Regions from separate parts of the Homo sapiens genome. Here region 1 is linked to region 2. The links are contacts of gene promoters, found by promoter capture Hi-C in human tissues and cell types (Jung and others, 2019). All regions are on one chromosome and are shown on one strand. The core of a region is centred on a gene start or on the middle of the fragment in contact, and the rest is flanking DNA. Distances in the headings are between cores, read along the strand shown.

What was found. The method cuts DNA at HindIII sites, captures the fragments that hold promoters and counts their contacts. A contact is called where the count stands out against the background at its distance.
Region 1: a fragment that was not itself captured here is called in contact with the fragment with the promoter of PALLD in region 2 in 1 of the 25 tissues and cell types used here (dorsolateral prefrontal cortex).

The regions. Positions count from the first base shown.
Region 1 is chr4:168,241,036-168,243,847 of GRCh38, forward strand. The region is part of intron 30 of DDX60 (DExD/H-box helicase 60); the gene reads right to left. Among named protein-coding and RNA genes, the nearest start is that of DDX60, 76 kb to the right of the region's middle. The HindIII fragment of the contact is 7,735 bases long and covers 1-2,812 here.
Region 2 is chr4:168,495,533-168,498,594 of GRCh38, forward strand. PALLD (palladin, cytoskeletal associated protein) reads left to right here and starts at 1,520. Exons shown (of 22, transcript NM_001166108.2): 1 at 1,520-1,662. The region is part of intron 1 of LOC107986198 (a long non-coding RNA gene); the gene reads right to left. The HindIII fragment of the contact is 2,790 bases long and covers 122-2,911 here.

The sequences.
Region 1 (2,812 bases), core at 270-2,769, 250 kb before region 2:
ATATGTCTTATGAAATCTGATGGTTTTAAAAAGAGGAATTCCCCTGCACAAGCTTGTTCTCTCTTTGCCTGCTGCCATCCATTGTAAGACATGACTTGCTCCTCCTTGCATTCTGCCATGATTATGAGACCTCCTCAGCCATGTGGAACTGTAAGTCCATTAAAACTCTTTCTTTTGTAAATTTCCCACTCTTGGGTATGTCTTTATCAGCAGCATGAAAACAGACTAATACAGTAAGTTGGTACCAGTAGAGTGGGGTGCTGCTGAAAAGATACCTGAAAATGTGGAAGTGACTTTGGAATTGGGTACTAGGCAGAAATTGGAACAGTTTGGAGGGCTCAGAAGCAGACAGGAACATGTGGGAAAGTTTGGAACTCCCTAAAGACTTCTTGAATGGCTTTGACCAAAATGCTGATAATGATATGGACAATGAAATTCAGGCTGAGGTGGTCTCAGATGGAGATGAGGAACTTGTTGGGAACTGGAGCAAAGGTGACTTTCGTTATGTTTTAGCAAAAAGACGGGCAGCATTTTGCCTCTGCCTGAGAGATTTATGGAACTTCGAACTTGAGAGAGATGATTTAGGGTATCTTGCAGAAGAAATTTCTAAGCAGCAAAGCATTCAAGAGGTGCCATGGGTGCTGTTAAAGGCATTCCGTTTTATAAGGGAAGCAGAGCATAAAAGTTCAGAAAATTTGCAGGCTGACAATGGGATAGAAATGAAAATCCCATTTTCTGAGGAGAAATTCAAGCTGGCTGCATAAATTTGCATAGGTAATAGGGAGCCAAACATTAATCACCAAGACAATGGGATGTCTCCAGGGCATGTCAGAGACCTTTGTGGCAGCCCCTTTCATCACAGGCCCAGAGATTTAGGAAAAAAAACTGGTTTCCTGGGCCAGGCCCAGGGTTCGTCTGCTGTGTAAAGTCTAGGAACCTGGTGCCTTGCATCCCAGCTGCTCCCGCTATGACTAAAAGGGGACAAGGTACAGCTCAGGCTATTGTTTCAGAGGGTGGAAGCCCCAAGCCTTGGCAGCTTACACGTGGTGTTGAGCATGACAGTGCACAGAAGTCAAGAACTGAGGTATGGGAACCTCTGCCTCAATTTCAGAGGATGTATGAAACTTCCCGGATGTCCAGGCAGAAGTTTGCTGCAGAGATGGGGCCCTCATGGAGAACCTCTGCTAGGGCAGTGCAAAGGGAAAATATGGGGTTGGAGAACCTGCACAGAGTCCCTCCTGGGGCACTGCCTATTGGAGCTGTGAGAAGAGGACCCCCACCCTCCAGACCCCAGAATGACACATCCACTGACAGCTTGCGCTGTGTGCCCGGAAAAGCCACAGACACTCAATGCCAGCCTATGAAGGCAGCCAGGAGGGGCACTATACCCTGCAAAGCCATTGAAGTGAAGCTGCCCAAGGCCATGGGAGCCCACCTCTTGCATCAGTGTGACCTGGATGTGAGACATGGAGTCAAAGGATATCATTTTTGAGCTTTAAGATTTGACTTTCCCACTGGATTTTGGACTTGCATGGGGCCTGTGGTGCCTTTGATTTGGCAAATTTCTCCCATTTGGAATGGCTGTATGTACCCAATGCCTGTACCCCCACTATATCTAGGAAGTAACTAACTTGCTTTTGATTTTACTAGCTCATAGGTAAAAGGGACTTGCCTTGTCTCAGATGAGACTTTGGACTGTGGAGTTTTGAGTTAATGCTGAAATGAGTTAAGACTCTGGGAGACTGTTAGAAAGGCATGATTGGTTTTGAAATGTGAGGATATGAGATTTGGGAGGGACCAGGAGTGGAATTATATGATTTGGCTGTGTCCCCACCCAAATCCCATCTTGAATTGTAACTCCCACAATTCCCATGGGTTGTGAGAGGAAACTGGTGTGAGGTAATTGAAACATGGGGGCGGGTCTTTCCCATGCTGTTCTCATGATAACGAATAAGTATTATGAGATCTGATGCTTTTAAAAAGAGGAGTTCCCTTGCACAAGCTCTCTCTCTCTTTGCCTGCTGCCATCCATTGTAAAACATGACTTGCTCCTCCTTGCCTTCTGCCATGATTGTGAGGCCTCCCCAACCATGTGGAACTGTAAGTCCATTAAACCTCTTTCTTTTGTAAATTGCCCAGTCTTGGGTATGTCTTTATCAGCAGCATGAACATGGAATAATACAATGATGAAAATGCCCAAAGCAATTGCAACAAAAGCAAACACTGATAAATGGGATCTAATTAAACTAAAGAGCTTCTGCACAGCAAAAGAAATGATCATCAGAGAAAACAAACAACCTACAGAATGGGAGAAAATTATCCATCCAACAAATGTCTAATATCCAGAGTCTACAAGGAACTTAAACAAATTTATAAGAAAAAAACAAACAACCCATTAAATAGTGGGCAAAGGACATGAAAGGACACTTCTCAAAAAAAGACATACATGCAGCCAACATATGAAAAAAACTCAACATCACCACTCATTAGAGAAATTCAAATCAAAACCACAATGAGATACCATCTCGCACTAATCAGAATGGCAATTATTAAAAAGTCAAGAAACAACAGATGCTGGTGAGGTTGCAGAGAAACAGGAATGCTTTTACACTGTTGCTGGGAGTGTAAATCAGTCCAACCGCATTGTGGAAGAGAGTGTGGAGATTCCTCAAAGAACTAGAGGTAGAAATACCACTTGACCCAGCAATTCCATTGCTGGGTATATGCCTAAAGAAATATAAATCATTCCATTATAAAGATATATGCATGTGTATGTTCACTGCAACACTATTCACAATAGCAAAACATGGAA
Region 2 (3,062 bases), core at 270-2,769:
TCTTTGTAAATTACCCAGTCTGTGGCATTTTGTTATAATGACACAAACTAAGACAATCAATCAGAGTTATATTTCCTTGTAAGTATAAATTTTATTTTTTTATTTTTATTTTTATTTTTTTTAAGAAGGAGTCTCGCTCTGTCACCCAGGCTGGAGTGCAGTGATGGGATCTCGGCTCACTGCAAGCTCCGCCTCCCGGGTTCACACCATTCTCCTGCCTCAGCCTCCCAAGTGGCTGGGACTACAGGCACCCGCCACCACGCCCAGCTAATTTTTTGTATTTTTAGTAGAGAGGGGGTTTCACTGTGTTAGCCAGGATGGTCTCAATCTCCTGACCTCATGATCCACCCACCTCGGCCTCCCAAAGTACTGCAATTACAGGCATAAGCCACCACGCCCAGCCGTAAGTATAAATTTTAAAATCACTTCTTAATTAATATAATAGATGAAATGACCCACAGAAGTATCCACTCACAGAAAGGACCATTTCTAAAGGACCAGTTTGGCCTATAAAGAAAATACAATAGCAGACCTTCACAAATTTTCTAACATCAGAAAAGAAAAAATATTTAGATATTAAACTGAATCAAATGTGATGGTCTTACCCAGACAAAGGAAGACTCAGCACCCCATTTCCAAGTTAACTGGGAGCTTTTGTGTTGCTCTTTTTGCCCCCCTTATATTTGATTCTGCTACCTGACCTTTAAACAGAAAAGCTTTCTCTTCTTGCTATCTATGTTTGTTATTTAAAAGATCAAAATATTAAACTCTTGCTATATCTATTTGTCATTTGAAAGATCAAAATATTAAATGATTGTGAAACATTTTTTGCAACTGTAAGAGGGTTGATACTTTTCCTGAATATTATTCATTCAACATTCATTTATTTCTTTGACAAATATTTAAGAGATGCTCATGATGTCCTAGGCATTGAGCTAAGAACTCAATGTTGCAATGTGGATAAGATCCAGTCCCTGTGTGTTCATACTTATTTAATACTATTATAGACAAGGCCTTTAATACATACCATAGTCATATATCAATTTTTAATTAGCAATATGAAATAAGAGAACAATGGGACTTTCCACTCAATTTGACAGGTGGCTAAATTTTCAGTTACTGAATTTACTATTTTAGGGTAATCTAGCACATGACCAAAATTTAAATGCACAGAACAGAAGATCAGAGTAAGAAGAGCTTCCATTTGGATTATCACTTTTTCTACTTGGAGTCACATACTGTACTTTAAATTGATTAAGAACATGTTAAAGGTCCAGGTGGTGATTTCCAGCTACAAGTCCAAAGTATAGAAGAATGTGTTTAAATCCTACGTTTATCAGATCCATAAATATAGTTCCTTCTATGTTAAGTGGCTTTATTTCTAAGAACCCAGCCCTCGGTCCTGGGGGTGCTTCCCAGCCCGCTGCTGGAATTCCTGATCGTGGCAGTCTGCTGAAACATGAGCTCAGTTACCAAATATAGCTGAGTGGAGTAAGAGGACAGATGAGAGTCTGAGGCCACAGTTGCCTCAAAGTGACCACGGACCAGGCAGTCTCTAATGAATAGGCAAGGCCACAACCTCCATTCTCCCAGAAAAGAAGAAATGCTCATCTGAAATTCATCACCTCTCTGGAGTCTTCAAACTGACCAAGCATTGAAAAGGTCTGTAAGGTGTATCTTAATATACTAACTAGTAGGGCAACATTTTAAGGACTTAAAAAAAAAAAAACTAAAAATACAAAAGTTTTTCTGAAGATATGATACTATTTACAAGATACCTTAATTATTCTTTTGCTTGGAGAGGAAACGTAATGAGAATGTTACGGTTTTGCCAAAAACAGATAATACGTAAGATTTGCCTGCCCACTTCATCTCTGCCTTTGCTGTCAGAGAATTACACTTTCTGTTATAAGCTTAAGCATGCTAAGATGGTGCTATCAATTCCAAAAGGATTAAATGTATTTATGGAGCCAGCTTTTGTCAAGATCGTGTATGTGTTATGTTTCACAGAAAAGGAAAACGCAGCTTTCTAGACCCTCACCCATATTTAAGCTAGATAAGTGATGATGGCTTAAAGTGATAGACCTTAGATTTCAGTAACATTATAAATTGTTAATTACACTTTCAAAAGATTCTAAAAGTAACTCACTGGACATAATTAAATGAGTTGGGATAGTAACAGCAGGTATTTTAAATTATATTCATGCATAAAATTTACATACATATTTTTAATAAGATAACGCTTACTAAGGGAAACCACAGTGCAATCTCGAGTCCAGTCAAGTTTAAACATCACAGAATAATTTTTATCATGTTGTTTTAAGTTGCACATGAAATTGTCTTGAATCCAATATAGGAGGTTGACATAAAATGATTTCAGGCTCATATTACTTATTAACATTTGCTAAAAATACTAATTGCCTTCTAGTATGAATAATGTGGTGACATATAAAGCCATTTCTTGGCAATATAAAACTATTACAAATCTATTCAATCACATATATGCAGAAATTAAATCCTCATTTCATGATAAATGTGCCTTCCAATGTTTTTTCTCACAGAAAGAACTTGAATACTCACCTCAATTATTCAGATTTTTTTTTCAGATTTTTAAAATCAAAGTCTCTTTGACAAGTTATTGCTAACAGCAGAAAAGGCCGATGAGGTTTATCTGGCCACTAACTGCCCTGTAAATACATGATTACACATTCCTAGAATATAAATTAGTCCTCTGGCATCCTAGAATCTGGTATGGATTAGGGTCTGTATCCCAGGGGTTCTGTGTCAGCTCTTCCTCTGGGTTTCTCTGTTATTGCTAGAGCTGAATATTAAAACTGGCCTTATAGCATATTTCACAATAGAATGAGGATCTGGATTGCACTGGACAAGTACAATCACTTTGACCTCCTTACCTCATTTTTTAAAAATGTAGAGGGCAATCATTATTCAGGTTTAAAAATAAATATGACAAGTTCTTTAAGAGATACCAAGTGGAATCTGCAAGGCCCAGACAAGAGCTCCACTTCTTAAACAATATGTGTGTGGAGGCTGTCAAAGGGTAT